Linked DNA regions of Homo sapiens: region 2 is linked to region 1. Evidence: promoter capture Hi-C in human tissues and cell types (Jung and others, 2019). All regions are on one chromosome and are shown on one strand. Each heading gives the region's core, a stretch centred on a gene start or on the middle of the fragment in contact. The rest is flanking DNA. Distances are from core to core; before and after follow the strand shown.

What was found. The method cuts DNA at HindIII sites, captures the fragments that hold promoters and counts their contacts. A contact is called where the count stands out against the background at its distance.
Region 2: a fragment that was not itself captured here is called in contact with the fragment with the promoter of ARHGEF38 in region 1 in 2 of the 25 tissues and cell types used here (lymphoblastoid cells and small bowel).

What each region holds. Positions count from the first base shown.
Region 1 is chr4:105,551,152-105,555,471 of GRCh38, reverse strand. It overlaps ARHGEF38 (Rho guanine nucleotide exchange factor 38), which reads right to left and starts at 2,852. Exons shown (of 14, transcript NM_001242729.2): 1 at 2,511-2,852. The coding sequence starts at 2,706. LOC105377352 (a long non-coding RNA gene) reads left to right here and starts at 3,188. Exons shown (of 5, transcript NR_188418.1): 1 at 3,188-3,279. RefSeq lists an enhancer at 1-244. The HindIII fragment of the contact is 7,071 bases long and covers 312-4,320 here.
Region 2 is chr4:105,678,239-105,682,484 of GRCh38, reverse strand. It overlaps ARHGEF38 (Rho guanine nucleotide exchange factor 38), which reads right to left. Exons shown (of 14, transcript NM_001242729.2): 14 at 1,571-4,246. Among named protein-coding and RNA genes, the nearest start is that of INTS12, 28 kb to the left of the region's middle. The HindIII fragment of the contact is 4,608 bases long and covers 1-3,640 here.

The sequences.
Region 1 (4,320 bases), core at 1,603-4,102:
AATAATGGGTATCGTACAGGCCAGAGAACAAACGCACAGAACTGATTGCTTTGAACATTAATGAGAAAATGCCTTCCCTTGTCGCCTTCCCTGTTCTAGTCGAACCATGCTAAAAGCTCTATTAGGCGTTCGATAATCAGACTTGGATTCTTTTAAGGGTTACGTTTTTAAGATGTTACTTCTCAGGAGGCCAGCCTATCTTTATGGCTTATGTGCTCCTCTATACTTCTTGGTGATTTTTCTCAAGCACAGACTAGAAGCATGTATTAACTGCTGAGTTTTGCCTTCCACCTTCAAAGAATCCAACAGAGCACAGGAAAGCCACAAATCAAATGAAGTGCGTAAGAAGTCTGAGGTCTTCTGCAAAGTAACCAACCCATGTCTGCTCTCTTGTGTGGTCATAGACTTATTTTTTTAGGAAAATTTAGTAAGCAAAAATTTGTGAATAGCAAAAATTATTTTCTGTTTTTATTTTGCTAATGGAGACTCTGATAGATGCTGAATTAGTGAAACTCAGACAGAAAAAACATGTCATTAGGGATAAAGCAATGGGCTTTTCCTGAATTTCTAGATGTGGTCTCTTTATCAAAGGACAAAAAAGAATTGAAAAAGAGAAATAAGGTATACAAACTTCGATTAATATTGGGCAAGTTCTGTTTTATCATTATGGTACCCATTATTCCTAAAATTTATCAGCCAGTATACTAGATGTTTTGTAATTATCTAATTTCAATCTCCCAACAACACTATGTGGCAAGTATCATTAGTCCCACTTTCACAGACAGGAAAATTGAGGCTCAGATATTTCAAGTAATTTGCTCAAGTTCTAATTGGTAGTAAGTTGAAGAACCAGGTTTAGAAACTAAATGTGTATGATTTTAAATTCTCATGGTACATATTCATCATGGAATACTACACAGCCAGAAGAAAGAACAAAATCATGTCCTTTACAGCAACATGGATACAACCGGAGGCCATTATCCTAAGCAAATTAATGCTGGAACAGCAAACCAAATACTGCATGTTCTCACTTATGAGTGAGAGCTAAACATTAGACATACATGGACATAAAGGTGGCAACAATAGATACTGGAGACTACTGGAGTGGCGAGAAACGGACAGAGGCAAGGGCTGAAAAACCACCTACTGGGTACTATGCTCAGTACCCAGGTGATGAGATCATTTGTACCCCAAATCGCAGCATCACACAAAATACGCAAGTAACAAACACACATATATACCCCCTGAATCTAAAATAAAAGTTGAAATTTTAAGACATCCATTCTTTCCAATGTATCTATTGCTTGGAGAAAAATTAATTTCAAAGATTAAACAATGCTCTCCCTCATTTTAAAAAAAAAGTATTTGAGGATAAGATTGATGCTGTGCTTTAGTGCTGAACTACTGGTAATTTTTTTTTTATTTTTACACATTAACTTATAGTAATAATTTTTAGATTTAATTTAAATGCATTTAATTTAACTTATTTAACTTAATTAATTTGCATAACTAAATCTAAGCTCATATTTGTGGAAAGAGATTTGTTAAATATAAGCATGTCCTATCGGTCTTTCTGACCTCATCACAGTTTTTAAATCCAAAACGACAGCTCACAGTGGGATGATGAGAGTTCAGACACACCTTGTGCTAAAAGCAGGAGAGGCAAGTTCTGGAGGACCACATAACAAGTACCGAAGAAAAGACTTAAAATGCTGCCCAATATCAACATCAAAATGAAATTTTACTAGAACAAATGACCTTCAGGAAACAGGAGAGAAAGAAAGGATAGATAGGACAGGATATAGATTAAGGCCCTGAAACAAATGATGTGCTATCATAACTGTGCCAAATTATCTTTGTACCATCACAAAATAAACTGAAGTTATTTCCTCAAATGTCATTCAAAATAAGCATGCTAAACATTTCTTACCATATTTGAGTATTATTCAATTTACTCAAAGGAAATAATCACCTAAGTGAATTTCAGCAAATCTTTTTATACCGTCTCTCTGACTATAACATTCCTTCTTTGTCACAGACACGATTATAGTTTCATGCCCCTATTTAAGATAACCACAATCATAGTTCAGTACCATTACCTAGATATATCTCATGGTGTAATATCACATATCTACCCATTGAGATAAACAATCTTTTGTAGGTTTCTAACTCATTTGCTTTCCAGTGTTTCCCACTTCTTAAGTTGGGTAGAGAAGGGAGAAGAAAAGAGGAAGTTAGAAGAAAAATGATTACCCTCACCAGGAAAAAAAAAAGAAAAACACAGCAATATTAAGAGTAATTCGGAATTGACTCTTTAACATTGAATCACGTAATAAATTTTTTTCCCTATAATTTATAGGTCACATTTACTTTCATCTTCTTATTTTGTGGGAAGGAGAGGTGGTATTCAATTTTCCCCTCTGCCTTGTGTGTTTTCTTTGCAATTGGAAACGTAGCAGAAATGGAGCTGGGAGTGCAGTAACTGGGACAATTGATTTCTTTTTGGTTACCTTGTAATTTCTGGTTGTATTCGGTCCTGTCAGATTGGCTCCTCCTCAAGGTGCCAGAGTGGTCCCCAGAAACACTGCTCTCAACCACAGTGTCAGTCTTCCTTCTCTCCAGCATATAGAGTCTAGACCTCAAGAAGGCCAGATTCTTTTTCTTGGTGACCATGTTTTCTTTCCCAGTGGCTTCTTTGGGCTCCATATTAGGCAAAGACAAGCTTTGGAGGCTTGCAGGCAATGGCTGATTGCTAAGGTGCCTCAGGGTGAGGGTTAAAGCTACTAGAGTGACGAGTTTATCTGCTCCCTTCTAACTAAACCGCTTCACTCCAGGGTTACCTGGCTGTGACTGCCACCACCTCTACGAAGTCCCAGAGCTCCACCCACATGAGGTCATTCTTTTTTAAACCTAGAATCCAACAGGGGAAGCTGCCACCTGTTACCTGAGAGACTTGCAGCACAGAGCTAGGCAAAGCAGGGACTGTGCTGTCACATGCTACTGAAGCAAACAAAAATCCTATTGTATGGGGTGAGGGGTGGGGAAAAAGGAAAATGAACAAGGTGAGGCAGTGAGGAAGGAAGTACACGTTAGCATAACCCGCCGTTTATGGGTTTAATGTGTGCCCATGGGTGTGTGCAGGTGCACTCAGGGCACTGTGTTGTGGTCTGCTGCCTGGAGGCAGACCAGGGCTTGTGCGTGGCTTTTGGCTAGAGTTACTCACAGGTGACCCACGGAGTCAGTGCAGGGGCTATGAGAATTTGCATTTGCATCAAAACGGTGAGTACAGAATCATTTTCAGTGATTACTGTGCACACTCAAAGTTATGCTTCTGCCTTTAAGCGTTGAACATTCAGCAATTATTTACTGAAAACATACTTGCCAAACCCTGATCCGCATTCCTGAGGAAATAAGGATTCACATGTGAGAGTCATCTGGCAGCAGGCAGAAGAAGTGGAGGGGAATGCCCATAGAAGCCTAGAGCCTTTTCAGATTTCTCACTCTCCACAGGCTGCCCTTGCCTGAAATTAATCCTTCCATGGTCCCACCCTGTCCTTTTATGTTTTGGTCCTTAGGAAAATAAGCCCCGTGTCAGGGTTCAGTTTCTATAAGATCTTTTCCCTGTCCCTTTCATAGACGGAGTGCCAGAAAAGGGCATCCCACCTTGGGAATTTAAGGAGAGGAAAAATGTTTGAAACTGAAGGGGCACTACACTTCTAGAAAGTAGAAAGGATAGGGCAGGGATTAAAAGAGAGAAAGGCAGACAGTGATAGGCCTTTCATTAATTTTTTTGAAGTTGTTTTTCCTCATATTTCCTGAGATCTCTCAAGGGAAAAATTCTAAGAAGCTCTGGGAATGTGCTGAGTGCTCTGTATGCCTTCGTTAAAGAAAAGAAAGACCCTAAGGAGGAAAATGGATTCTCTCCTATTGTAAAGGGACCACCAAAATCCAGCTCTGTGCTGACCAGTCTGAATCTTGCATAACTTCTGTTGGAAAAGATTTATAAATGAGGAGAAAGATGTAAAAGTCATTTCCCAGCTCAGGATGTGTGTGCTCAATATAGTTTGCATAATTATCTTAAAAGATAAATGACACATCTTCACCCACTATGGAGACATCTATATATAGCTTGGCGTATTGAATGGCTTTTATTTAATATAATTGATAGTCTTTTTTGAATAAATCCTCCCAAGTACATTTAATAAATACTTTTAAAGGCTTATTTACCTCTAAAATATAAAAGGAATTTTTTGGATTTATGTCAAAATGCCTCAATTGTGTTCGAATATTATATATGTATGAATGTATGTATGCATATAC
Region 2 (4,246 bases), core at 87-2,586, 130 kb before region 1:
AGATCTTCAGAAGATTGAAAGCATCTGTGAATTTAAGGAAAAAGAAATAGTTCATCTTCTAGCAAAGCCCCAAGAGTTGATCCTGATGAATGAGGTGCCTTATGTGGCGGCAGGGACGACCCAACATAGTTTTCTATTTTCCTCCCCGTATTCTGGGTGTTCATTTTCTGTGCTAGCCCCATTTCAACTGACTCTCCCTCTCCCTCCCAATTATTTCATCTTTTTCAAAATTATTTTTTCATTATTGATTTCTCATATCAATGGATTTTCCTAATTGATTTATCATACTTCATATTATATCTTTACCTTTTTTATCACCTCATTTCAATTATTTAAGGGTATATCTTTTTCCAATAAATTGTGAACTCTCCTGGTGCTTAATACAATATTTTTTCTCACATTGCTCACTTTTCCTACATTGCCAATGTAATACATGCACATAGTACGTAATAAATGTTGAATTTTGATTCATCTTGGTTATGCACATTCCTGATAAGTTTTGAAGAAAAATACCATTTCACAAAGGTCTTTGCAGATGGAAATATATGACTTGTTCACACACTGATGGCTTCTTCCTATACCATGAAAGAAAAGGCTATCTTACTTAGTGCTCAAAATGTTATAGCACTTTACCTAATTTTAGCTAACTTTGTATACAATAAGCTCCTATATAATGATTAATTCTTGAGATTGTTTTGTACATTGTTAACCCATTTATGCCAGAGGTTGCAAATTTTTTTGGTGAAAAATCAGACCTGATGATGACCTTGAACAGTAGGATATAAATAACTCTATAAGCCGAGCATTGCAATAATGGAACACTAGGCATAAGTGGGTTAAGTCAGAAAATGTGGAAGGTCTGCGTTGTTGTCTTACTTGCAAGCTAACAAATTAACCAGCAATTGTTGTACATGTATATTCTGAGAGAAGATAGGAAGCCCTCTGCATCAGAGAAACAGTTTATTATTCACAGCAAAAAAACTGGATATCCAACAAATTCACACATTCACAAGACTATGAACAGCCTGTTCCATCAAACTTGATTTGTGCTACTAAATCTTCACTCTACAAATCTCTAATCTCAAACTGTCTTCCTTAATCCCTAGGTTTTTCTAACATCATTATTCTAAAGTATATTGATAGGTGATCTCTGTAAACACAAAGCTTTTAAAATTAAGCTTGGTCTTTTTTTTTTTAAGGAAAGATTATTATTTTAAACTGCTCTGTTAAATAATGGTGCTAAATTATTTGTAGTAAATTAGAATCCAGGATTGAGATAATCCATTATCTCAATTATGATCTCAATAGGCAGTAAATGTCTGTTTACCCTATATGTAAATAATGAATTATCTCAATCCTACAGAGACTTTTGCTTTGAGAAACAGATTTATTTTGATAAAACATCAATTTGACATAAACCCCAATTTCCCTTTGGGGTCAAAGAAACCAAAAAATACATATCCATAATTGTTTATAGTTCAAAACCAGTTTGGACTAAACAAAATTACCTGACATAAAAACTCAGCTCCGCAACTATAACAGTTAATGTAACCTCCATACCTACAAAAAATGAAAGCAGTAATGTTTATTACAGTTCACACATTGGCACTTGAAATGAAAACATTTATCCCATCATGGAAAATACGTGCTACATAGAGTTGAGAAGAGAAGCAATTATTTTAATTTCTGTTGTACCTCAGAGGGGACTTTAGTTTAGGAGGTAATTTATCTTTCACTGAGTATGGCTCTTTGTATAGATAATGTGTGCACACGTATATTTAGGTTATGTACATATGTATAAGTACACATATACCGTATTTAGCTCAGTTTGGTATTTTATAGAGGTATATTTGGTATTAGAGTTTAAATTGTCTCAAGGAGCTTTTAGACCTTGATTTTTTTCATGTCATAAAATGAGCTACAAGACCCTTTAACTGAGCAGTAATGAAAGTAGCCAGTTTTATATAAATAGCATTTATTATTTTATGATCATTTTATTTAGTTTGTTATGTGCAGATGTTTTCCCCACTAGAATTTAAGTGGTATGAATGGAGGGATCTTGTTTGTCTTGCACAGCATTGTATTCCCACTAACTCTCAATAAATACTTACTGGTTCAATGAATGAATGGACAGATAAGCAAGTGTGCTAACAAGTAAGCTTTTAGGATTGTACATTTTAATCCCATTAGTAGATATGTGGTGACTATCATTTTTCTATTTTGCATATGCTTTATGTAAGATTATATAACTACAGATTTTAGTGACTTAAGGAAAAGAAAAGGGAAAACACTAAAAGAAAGGCCTTAAAGTCAGAAGACCTGGTTTTAAATTCCAGTCCCTCCATGTGAGGTCCTCAATTTCCTCCTTTATAAAACACAGATGAAAATGAGATGTCCTTCAAGTCTACAGTGGATCTGAAGGGAGGGCTATTATTTTCTGTGAGACGAAGAAGAATGTAACTGACATGGCCATGAATCCGCACAAAACAGAATGCACTGTGTTTACATGGGGACATTGCACAGTCACAAAGAGAAATTACACTAAAAGGCTTCAGAGAGGTAATTATAAAGTTTTGGTGGCAACCAATGTGGCTCCTCGTGGTTTGGACATTCCTGTAGTTGACCTGGTGATTCAAAGTTCTCCTCCTCAGGATATTGAGTCCTATATCCATCTCTCTGGATGCGTGGGTAAAGCTGGACAGACAGGGGTTTGTATATGTTTTTATCAACCAAGAGAAAGGTCAACTAAGACATGTGGAACAAAAAACACAAATTACTTTTAAATGTGTAGGTGTTCCTTCTACAATGGATTTAGTTAAATTTAAAAGCATGGATGCCATAAGGTCTCTGGCTTCCATTTCTTATGCTGCTGTTGATTTTTTTCCAACCATCAGCTCAGATACTGATAGAAGAGAAAGGGGCGATAGATGCATTGGCTGCAGCTTTAGCCCACATTTCTGGTGTATCAAGCTTTGAACCATGATCTTTAATCAACTCTGATAAGGGGTTTGTGACCATGACTCTGGAAAGCCTAGAGGAAATACAGGATGTCAGCTGTGCTTGGAAAGAACTTAGAAAGCTGAATAGTAATGCAGTGTCTCAGATTACCAGAGTGTGCCTCCTGAAAGGAAATATGGGTGTTTGCTTTGATATTCCTCCAATTGAGTCAAAGGTTACAGGCAAAGTGGCATGATTCCGGCTGGATACTCTCAGTGCCAGCTAAATTACCTGAAATTAAAGAATATTATGATGGAAACATCTTTTAATTCCAGACAGAGGAGTGGCTGGTCAGGCCAGTCAGGTTGTCGATCTGGCAATTGGTCAGGTAGAGAGAGTCGACAAAGCAGTTGCTCAGGAAAGTCGGCAAGATGGTAGAAGACGAAGTGGAACAGAAATAGATCAAGAAGTGGGGGCCACAAATGGAGTTTTGACTGAGTATTTGATAGTTAATTTAGCAGTGTGAGCTTGCCTATTTCTACCTAATCTTACATTATGGATCAAAAATTAGGTCATCATTGTTGAGGTATGTGTCTACTATTTGCAAAGAAGTTGATCGTATTTTTTTAAAAAAGTATTTCACAAGAATGATTGTAAACAAATCTACTTATCCAGTTATACCTTTGAATAAAAAAACCTCCTTTTATTGTCTCTTTAAAAAAAAAAAAAAACAACAAGAAAAGAAAGAAAAAAGCCCTGGCTGAAGGGGAAGTCTATTTAGATGGTTGGAAGCCTTAGAATTTTATTTTTGGTTTACACTACCTAGGTTTAAGTCCAGGCCCACCACTTAATAGCAATGTGATTTGGATTAAATTACTTCACCTTTTTGGGCCATGGTTTCTTCATAATGTTTTGAATATTAAACAAGTTACTACATATAAAGCACTTAGAACAATGTCTGGCATATAGTGTGCATTCAGTAATGTTACATGTTAATATCAAGTTATTCAGTTTTAGTTCAAAACATATAAACGAAACATTAACAAAATATATTATCAAAGACTTCTAGTTGGTGGTATATTCTTCTTATGTATATTTGGTGTATACTCTGATTTATACATATAGGTGTATAATTCATATTATCCACATACGTGTATAAAGCTACATAATATATATGGTTTATATGTATGTATATAAACATGTATGCATTTGCAAGAGAGCAATATGAAAAACAAAAACATTTAAGGCAAAATACATCATACAGTAAAAAAAAAAGTAAATTGAAAAACCTTTGGATCCAACCTTTCTT